Regions from separate parts of the Homo sapiens genome. Here region 1 is linked to region 2. The links are contacts of gene promoters, found by promoter capture Hi-C in blood cells and fetal thymus (Javierre and others, 2016). All regions are on one chromosome and are shown on one strand. The core of a region is centred on a gene start or on the middle of the fragment in contact, and the rest is flanking DNA. Distances in the headings are between cores, read along the strand shown.

The links. Contacts are between HindIII fragments. The CHiCAGO score rates a contact against its expected background, and 5 or more counts as called.
Region 1: a fragment that was not itself captured here is called in contact with the fragment with the promoter of ERRFI1 in region 2 in 1 of 17 cell types (total CD4 T cells); the score reaches 7.1 in total CD4 T cells.

What each region holds. Positions count from the first base shown.
Region 1 is chr1:8,728,697-8,733,606 of GRCh38, reverse strand. The region is part of intron 1 of RERE (arginine-glutamic acid dipeptide repeats); the gene reads left to right. Among named protein-coding and RNA genes, the nearest start is that of RERE, 86 kb to the left of the region's middle. RefSeq lists a silencer at 1,544-1,713 and an enhancer at 2,696-3,195. The HindIII fragment of the contact is 3,528 bases long and covers 23-3,550 here.
Region 2 is chr1:8,022,706-8,027,924 of GRCh38, reverse strand. It overlaps ERRFI1 (ERBB receptor feedback inhibitor 1), which reads left to right and starts at 1,616. Exons shown (of 4, transcript NM_018948.4): 1 at 1,616-1,767. ERRFI1-DT (ERRFI1 divergent transcript) reads right to left here and starts at 1,432. Exons shown (of 3, transcript NR_185980.1): 1 at 504-1,432. RefSeq lists silencers at 1,531-1,580, 1,701-1,800. The HindIII fragment of the contact is 13,168 bases long and covers 1-5,219 here.

The DNA.
Region 1 (4,910 bases), core at 537-3,036, 710 kb before region 2:
TTGCTGGCTGTTGGCAGAAGCTTCAGTTCCTTGCACATGGAACCTCTTCATAGGGCTGCCTGAGTTTCTTCATGATACTGCACCTGGCTTTCCAGAAGAAAGGATTCATATAAGAGCAAGGTGAAAGCTGCAATGTCTTTTATGACGTAGCCTTGGAAGACATTATTGTCAAGAGTTTGAATACCAGGAGGCAGAGCTCACTGGGGGCCATTTTGTGGGCTGGTTACCACAGTTCTCATGAAAATGTTAGTGAATAGAATAATAAAATTTAGAACTAAAAGGAGCCGTAGCCCAGTGGTTTCAAGATGTGGCTCTTGAACCAGCAGCAGCACTTGTGAATTTGGTTAAAATGTAAATTATTGGGCCTGTCCCAAGACTTACTGAATTAGGATCGAGGAGTGACTCCCAACACTCACTCTCTCTCTCTCTCTTTTTTTTTAAATAAACTTTATACTTTAGAACACTTTTAGATTTATAGAAAAATCGGGCTGGGCGTGGTGGCTCACGCCTGTAATCCCAGCACTTTGGGAGGCAGAGGTGGGCGGATCACGAGGTCAGGAGATTGAGACCATCCTGGCTAACACGGTGAAACCCCGTCTCTACTAAAAATACAAAAAATTAGCCGGGCGTAGTGGCGGGCGCCTGTAGTCCCAGCTACTCGGGAGGCTGAGGCAGGAGAATGGCGTGAACCCGGGAGGCGGAGCTTGCAGTGAGCTGAGATAGCGCCACTGCACTCCAGCCTGGGTGACAGAGCAAGACTCCATCTAAACCAAAAAAAAAAAAAAAAAAAAAAAAAAAGAAAAATTGAAAATTGGGCAGATAGTATAAGTAGTTCCCACACACACACATATACAGACACACACACAGAGTTCCCCCTATTATTAACATCTTGCATGAGTGTGGCTTATCTGTTACAACTGATGAAGCAGTATTAATATATTATTAACTGAAGTCTACAGTTTAAGATTCACTCTTTGTGTTGTACATTCTGTGGGGTTTGACAGAAACGTAAATGTCATGTGCTTATCCACAGTTACAGTATCCTGCAGAATAGTTTCACCACCATTAAAACTTCTGTGCTCCATGTAATCATCTCTCCCTTCTTTGCCCAGCCCCTGGCAACCACTGGTCCTTTTACTATCTCTATAGTTTTGTCTTTTAAAGAAAGTTGAAGTTCCTTTTAAAGAAAGTTCTATGGTTGGAATCATATAGTGTGTATACTTTCAGATTGGCTTCTTTCACTTAACAATATGTGTTTAATGTTCCTCTTTCTTGTTCTTTAGAGCTCATTTCTTTTTATTGCTCAGTGAACACCACAGTTCGCATATCTATTCATGAAGTACGGTTGAAGGACACCTTGGTTGCCTTCTGTCTCTGATTATGAATAAAACTACTCTAAAATTTGTGCAGATTTTTGTATGGACATAAGTTTTTAAGTCAGTTGGACAAATGCTTAGGGGCACGATTGTGGGATTGTATGGTAAGATTATGTTTAGCTTTTTCAGGCTGGGCGTGGTGGCTCATGCCTATAATCCCAGCACTTTGGGAGGCTGAGGTGGGCAGATCACGAGGTCAGGAGATCGAGACCATCCTGGCTAACACAGTGAAACCCCGTCTCTACTAAAAATACAAAAAAATTAGCCGGGCGTGGCAGTGTGTGCCTGTAGTCCCAGCTGCTGGGGAGGCTGAGGCAGGAGAATGGCATGAAACCAGGAGGCAGAGCTTGCAGTGAGTCGAGATCGTGCCATTGCACTCCAGCCTGGGTGACAGCGCAAGACTCTTCTCAAAAAAACAAAACAAAACAAACAAACAAACAAACAAACAAAAAAACATTATGTTTAGCTTTTTCAGAAAATGCCATACTGTGCTTCATGTTTGCTGTGGGTTAGATGCTTCCGTTTCCTGTAGTTTTCTTGTTTTTTTCCACCCCTGGTTTCTTTGGGTTTCCCTAAGAACTCCTTCTTAAATAGAGTCTGTCTTGAAGCTCTGTCAGTTGTAATGCATTTTTTTTTTTATACTGGAGCTCTGTTGATGTGGTGGAAAGGTGTTGGGGAAGGAGTGCATTCTGTAATCTAATATTAAATCTCAGTTTTTTAGTGGGCGTAAGTCTTTAGGCTGTGATCTTCCGAAGAGTTTATTAGCTTTCCTCCCCTCACCCCTTCTGTGAGAAGGCAAGAGGGAGTTGAGTAATTGTCCTTTCCCCAGGTCTACAAAGCTCCTGCGAAGTAGTTTTTCTTAGCAGGTGGGCCTTTGTTATGGAGAATGCTCTGAGCAATTGCAAAATGGTTACTTTCCCCTCTCCCTGCCTAAAATACGAGGGGATTTTTTTCTTTGATGTTCTTGTAAGAACCTGTTCAGGCTCCTGGAGGTAAAAGCTATATAGGTCCCTCTTAAGTCTGGACCTCCAGAAGTTTTAACTCTCAAGCTAGTCCACACTCAGTCTTCTGCAGTTCGTCAAAATTACCGTTCAGGTATTGATTACTGTATTGCTTACTGGTTCATGTAGCTTTTGCTTCTGGTAATCTGATCTTTTCTGTGATTCTCTGTATTTTCTTGTGATTTTTTTCCTTCAAATTTTGTGGTAGCTGTTTGCTCTGTGACCCCAGTTCTCTAATGGATCTAAGAAAGGCCATTGATTTCAGTTTGTTTAGCTGTTTTCTTGCTGTGAGGATGGGAATGATGACTTCTGAACTGAAAATGAAGCCTGGCACCCAACACCCCTTGCTTTAACAAATCCCTCCAGGTGATTCTGAGGCATGTGAATGGTTGAGAACCACTCATGCAGCGTTAGTCCTTCAGTTCACAGATAAAGTACAAAGGGGAAACTGGCTGGTCACTGTGGCTCACACCTGTAATCTTAGCCCTTTGGGAGCCTGGGAGGTAGATGGTGCAGTGAGCTGTGATTGCACCACTGTACACCAGCCTGGGTGACAGAACAAGACTCTGTCTCAAAAAACAAAACCAGACTGGGCGTAGTGGCTCATGCCTGTAATCCCAACACTTTGGGAGGCTGAGGCAGGTGGATCACCTGAGGTCAGGAGTTCAAGACCAGCCTGACCAACATGGTGAAACCCTGTCTCTACTAAAAATACAAAAATTAGCTGGGTGTGGGGACGCATGCCTGTAATCCCAGCTACTTGGGAGGCTGAGGTAGGAGAATGGGGTGAACCCGGGAGGCGGAGCTCGCGGTGAGCCGAGATCGCGCCACTGCACTCCAGCCTGGGCAACAGAGCGAGACTCTGTCTCAAAAACAAAAACAAAAACAAAAAAAACCCCAAAAACAAATGGGGGAAATTACTTTTCTAAGTTACAGGGAGAGTCAAAACCCGGACTAGAACCTGGGTCTCTTGACTAGATCATCTTCAAGCTGTATTTTTGTATCTACATATAGTGACCTTCAAAGGGATTCATTATATTTCATCTTGTGTATTGTATGTTTGACAAGTATATTTGTTTTGATGGTTCACTGATTTCAGTCCTTGGTATTTACCTCAAGTTCATTCTGGGATCTGGTTCTATTCATACACATTATCATAGCTATTTGGAAGCTTACTTGAAATCTTCTCTTTGAAAGAAATATCAGCCTATCTCAGGTGTGAGCTTCAGTGTAACATTGATGTGAGTGAAATAGTATGTTATATAGAAAATTTTATTTTCCCCTGCCATCCCTTACATAAGATTTTTTAAATACCTGAAAGAAAACCTTAGAGCTCTTCATTCAGTCTTTGGAAAAGCCTGATGTGAACCATCATATGGGAGGAATCAGCTGCATCTGTCATTCTTTCTTCCCATGAGTTCCCATAATTTCATTTTCTTAATATGTAGTATAGGGTGGATAGCAGTCATAATCCCCTTTTCCATCTCAAGCCAGCCCACACTCCTTAGCCTCATGCACATGACATTCCTCTTAAGTTGTGATCTGGAGAAGGCTGGAGATGTTTGCTGTTGGCAGTCTTTTTCTGTAAAGGGCCAGATATAGTAAATATTTAGTCTTTTCAGGTTGTATGGTCTCTGTTTCAAGTATGGAACTCTGCCATTGTAGTGGGAAGACAAACAACCATAGAAAATACACATAAAAAAATAAGGCCAGGTGCAGTGGCTCATGCCTGTAACCCCAGCACTTTGGGAGGCCGAGGCGGGTGGATCACAAGGTCAAGAGTTCGAAACCAGCCTGGCCAACGTGGTGAAACCCCGTCTCTACTAAAAATACAAAAATTAGCCAGGCATGGTGGCACGTGCCTGTAGTCCCAGCTACTTGGGAGGCTGAGGCAGGAGAATCACTTGAAACCAGGGAGGCAGAGGTTGTGGTGAGCTGAGATTGTGCCACTGCACTCCAGCCTGGGCAACAGAGCGAGACTCCATCTCAATAAAAAAAAAAAAAAAAAAAAATCGGTGTAGCTGACTTCTAATAAAACTTGATTGATTGATTGATTGATTGAGATGGAGTCTCACTCTTGTTGCCCAGGCTGGAGTGCAATGGTGTGGCACGATCTCAGCTCACCGCAGCTTCCACCTCCCGGGTTCAAACGATTCTCTGCCTCAGCCTCCTGAGTAGCTAGGATTACAGGCTTGCGCCACCATGCCCAGCTAATTTTGTATTTTTAGTAGAGACAGGGTTTCTCCATGTTGGTCAGGCTGGTCTTGAACTCCCGACCTCGGATGATCACCTGCCTCGGCCTCCCAAAGTGCTGGGATTACAGGCATGAGCCACTGCGCCTGGCTATAAAAGTTTATTTTCAAAAACAGGTGCAGTCTCTTGGCCCTAGTTGCTAGCTGCTGTTTCAGAGCCTGTGGAAATCTTACCTTCACTTTATGCCCCAAAGGATGCCATCGTTTTTATCTACTGGATGGGATCCCCAAGATTACTTAGATTGTTTTCAGAAGTAATAACAGATATCTGGGTATGGAGC
Region 2 (5,219 bases), core at 367-2,866:
AAAATTAGGCCTTTGAATTAAATTAAAAAGAATGTAAGTAAATAATAGTGGGGGAAAGGCAAATCATTTCATGGGGTGTAGAGTTAATAGTTAACCTGATAATAAGGCCAGAATCTCATTCCATATGTTAAACTACCCCAATTAGCTAGTGATCAGTGTCTAACTATCAGGCATTATTGCTGAAGTGCAAGCAGGGGCTCCAGGAGGCTAGAGGTCAGCGACAGGTCTCTGGGCTCTCCCAACAGAGGACCAGCCAGGGAATTTGTTCTAGTTAAAACTAGAGGGTTTCCGTCTGTTTGCTTTTTTTCTGACTTTAGTCACTCTTGGTTTGTTATCATTTGTATTATTTATTTTACGGTTAAACTATAAGCCTAAGTTGCATCACTGGCGCCCCGAGAAACCTCCTCCCACAGGCCCGCTGGGGCTTTGTCCTTGGGCATCCGTGGCCTCTCCAAAGCCAAAAGACGTCGGGGCCAGCTCAGGTCGCCTGAGTAAACACAAACCTGGGAAGCCGAGGGCCCCCTAAGTCAGTAGTGAGGGAGCTCCTCCTGGAAACCCACAGCGACCCTGAAGGGCTCAACCTCGAGCAGGACCTTTCCTCCATATTCCAACGCAGTCAGAGGAGCCCTGGGTTCCCCCCGCGTAGCCTCACCGCCCCACGCCGGCCCACTCTGTCCCCTCATCCTCCCTTGCTGTCCTACTCTGTCCCTCGCCATCCCTCACAGTCCCACACTGTCCCTCACCGCCCCTCACAGTACCTCACCGTCCACTGTCCCACACTGTCCCTTGACATCCTTCATTGTCCCTCACCGCCCCTCACAGTGCCTCACTGTCCACTGTCCCATACTGTCCCACACTGTCCCTTGCCATCCTTCACTGTCCGAGTCCCTCACAGTCCCAAAGTCCCTCACTGTCCCACAGTCCCTCACCGTCCCACACTGTCCCTCACTGTCCTACACAGTCCCTCACTGTCCCTCATCGTCCCGCACTGTCCCTCACCGTCCCACACCGTCTCTCATCGTCCCGCACTGTCCCACACAGTCGCTCACCGGTCCACACGGTCCCTCATCATCCCACACTATCCTTCACTGCCCCACACAGTCCCTAAGTGTCCCTCACTGTCCCTCCCACGCCGCAAGCCCAGTCGAGAGCGGCTCCCCTCTCCCCCTCCAGGGCTTCTTCGGCCCACACGGCCAGCGGCGGCCCGCGGAGAGGAAAAAACACACAATCTTGCCCGGAGCCTGAATTTATGGGAAATCCCGCGCGAAGCGCGATGTGCCCTCAGTTCGGGCAGGAACAGCGGCCGAGGCCCGGGTCGCCGCGGGCTTCTGAGGAAAGCTCGGCGTTGAGAGGCTCCCAGGGCTGCCGCACGGCTCAGGCAGAGGAGCGGAGCTGCGGCCGCGGTCAGCCCGGAGACGCCTCTCCGGGAGACAAAGCCGGCTCCCTGCAGCGCCGCGATACGCCACGGTGGGCCCGGCGCAACGCCTCGGCCACGGCATCGCCCCTTTAAGCGGCGCGCGCCCTGATTGGCTGCGGGAGGAGGCGGGGCGGGACGCGGCGACCTCACGGCCCGGCGGCCTATGCTATATATAGAGGCGGCGGCGGCAGCCGCGGCGACGGCGGTCCGGTGCGAGGCAGAGTGCTAGCGGGAGCGCGAGCCAGCAAGAGGCGCCTGCGCGATGTCCGGGCCCCTGAGCCCGCGGCGCTGAGCCAGCCGGGACGGACATGCGCGGGAGGGCGCCGCGGGGCAGCCGCCGCTCCTCCGGGGTAAGGGGCCTGGCGCGCTGAGGGGGTGGGGAGGGCCACGCAGCGCTCCGTTCCCTCAGGGGGCCCCGCGCCGGGCGCCGGGATCCAGGCGGCTCCCCGACGCGAGGGCGGGGGCGTGGAGGGCGCGGGGAGGGTCGCCGCGACGCGGAGTCTCTGGGATGGAGGGAGAGGCCGGCCGGTCGCTCGCGGGCTTCTCCCCATTGAGGTGTGGAGAGCGGGACCCTCCCCGGCGGCGCAGCCCGGGCCTGGGGACGCCGCGAAGTGCCGGCGCCCGCCGCCTTCTCCACGCCGGCTGTGGTCGTCGCGCGGCCCCTCGGCTGGCCGGGGCCATGCACCCGAGCGCCCGGGATACGTCCCCGCAGCACCGGGACCGCAGGAGCGGACGGGGGTTCGGGAGCGGCGAGCATGAAGGTCCTCGTCCCGCAGCCTGCGCTCGCGGGGTTGCCCGGCGGGGATGAGCGTCTTCGGGCCTGGGGGCTTGTTTGATTTTTTTTTTATTTGTAAAAAGGGGGTTGCGTTGTCTTGTTCACACCGTGTACCCGTAAATCCTGTCTTGAAAGCTGGGGTGGGAGGCTCGGCGATTGCTTGCGGTGGTTGGTACCGGTTCTCTGGCGGTCAGCCCCGCTCCCTCTGCCTAATCTCACAGCGACGATGGTAATGCCGAAATCAGTATTTAAAAATTCGTCTAAGCTGTTCTGAACTCTTCCTTCTCTCCTAGAAACGTGATTCTTTGCTCTGAGTGTCTTAAGTACGGCTTTGAATGGAATCGGACTGCAAAATTATGTGTTCAAGACGTGAATGCTTATTGGGAATTTTGTGTGTGTATTTATATGTATATCATAGCCCTGTACAAATTAGATGACTCTTTAACCGTGAATGGTGCTGTATTAGTGCTTGCTAAGTCTTTATTAGGATTTCATCATTGCTTGAAAGAAACCAGTCTCTTACCTGATAAAAATATGAATAGATGGTTAGTCATAAACTTAAGTCAGAATGGAGACTGTAGCTTTAAAAGAGATGTGTCGGTGACTTGAGGTACACCTGCAACACAGGTAGGGCAAGACTGGTTTCTAGGCAACTGTCAGGGGTGAAGAAAGGTGAGGTTAAAATGCCCTTTTTTTCCCTTCCAGAACAAATGTTCAACCTTTTATAAATGTGTAAGAATGCAGTGGGTACACACATTTGTTGAGACTGAACATCCCAAGTTCACCGTACCTATTTTTTTAACTGCATTTCTTTTCTTATATTTCTGTAATTACAATATACAGTTTTAAGTGAAATTTTATTTGAACAGAGACCAAAGACAGGCTAGGTATCAGCAAATGATCAAATTTTGCAAAGACCAAAATAAAAGAAGCTGGTTTCTTGCTAACATGCTGGCTATAATTGGTTACCAATATGTTATCAAGCAAGTTCTTTTCCAGATATTAGCAAGTTTGAAGAAAAATAACAAAGGATTTAGCATGGACTTCAGAAACTATTTGTCATTCCCTTTGCTTCAAGCAGAAGTTTATTTTCACCTGTGTGTTCCAGGGGACACTCGATAATAAGTGATAGAGGTCTTAGACTAACGATTTATAACCTGACAGATATATTAGATTGTAAACTCCTTAAGGGTAGGCACTCTGCCTTGTATAGCTTCTATCTTATGCAGCCTTGCACATAGTTGATGTTGATAAATAATTGCATGAAAGCATGTTTTACCTTTTAAGGCTCAGCAGGATTGGAGCAGTCATTGATAAGGGTTGGAAAGCAAATCTGTTTAATTTTTTTATGGCTGTTATGAAATGCCTGAATTATTGATATTTTTGACGGGTAAAACTGTTGTTTCAATCATCGGTTTTCCTACTTGCAGTTCACAATATATACTGGTCACTCTTTATAAGATTTAATTATGCTTGAGTTTTTGTGTGAAAATACCTCTTGACTGCTGCTTCTCAAAAGTTGAGCTAGATAATACTTCCTTTCTGCTGAAACTAATGGTGGCTTTTCAAAGCAATTTGCGTAAATTACAGGCACAATCTAACATGCTTGAAACTGACCTGATTGTCTGCATACCATCAGATTGCTTTAGAAAGGAGCAGAGGAAGGAAAGGAGGTGTCAGGGGTAACTCCAGGAATTGGAATGGCATAGGCTCCCTCTGCCAGAGAAACAACTCTGCTCTTGATCTAAATAAATTTGAATTGGTACCTCATCATCTGGATCCATTTGGATACATTTAGCATCCTTTGCGGGTGTCTGGCTATACAAAAGCTAATAAAGAACTCGCTACATAAACGCAGTCCAGTTGTGGTATTCTGGCATTGTTCACACAGCATAAACACGTGCTTTGTAAAGGTAGATGAGGCGAATGAGTTTGAGGGTCCTAAATGTAAGTTACTACCTTAACAATTAGTTTTAAGATAGGGAAAAGTTACTGAGGGGGGTTCAGATTTCAGAAGGTGGTGGGGAGGATTCTCAGATTTCAAGTCTTTGTTGATACTGTAGTCCAATTCCTCACACCATAAAATTGGGCAATATTACGAAAAGACCACTCTTCCAGGTCTCAATGAATGTGTCTTTAAAATGTGGGGCTTTTGGCCGGGCTCAGTGGCTCAGGCCTGTAATCTCAGCACTTTGGGAGGCCAAGGCGGGCAGATGGCTTGAGCCCAAGAGTATGAGACCAACCTGGGCAACATGGTGAAACCCTGTCACTACAAAAAAACACAAAAATTAGCTGGGTATGGTGGCACACGTCTGTAGTCCCAGCTACTCAGGAGGCTGAGGTGGGAGGATTGCTTGAGCCTGGGAGGCAGAGGTTGCAGTAAGCCAAGATCACACGACTGCACTACAGCCTGGTGACAGAGTGAGACTCTGTCTTTAAAAAATAAACAAACAAAAAAATGTGGGGCTTTGGCTACAGAAATGGAGCCCTTTTCAACTTGGAAACAATAGGAAGGTAAGGATTGGAAGACATTATCCAAAAGCTCTTATTCAATACCCCAGATGTGAAACTGGACTAGTTACAGATTGTTTTTTAAACAACTATTCGCTCAGTAGAATTGTCTTCTGACTCTTATCAGGGCTGCCTCTTTTTCAGCCTTTAGATTTCCATTTAAAAGTCACCTACTCAGAGAGGCCTTCCCAAACCACCTGTGTAAATATATGCTCCTCTGCCTCCTTATCCTATTGCTGCTGTACCCTGCTTGTTTCCTTGGAAGGTATCGCCATCTAAAATTGTTTGCTTGCTTGGCTATTCTCTTCCTCCCTCATTAGATGGAAGGCTTCTTCAGGCAGCAGCCATCTCTATTTTTCACCTCACATGGTGTCTAATCCAGAATAAGCACTTGATAAATATTTGTGAAAAGAATTAATCCTTGCCCTCTAAGAATTTTTGAGCTGAATGAGCACTATGAGTTGAGTTTCTGTTCCTGCCTCTGCTATTGACTAGCACTTAGGTCTTGAGCATTTA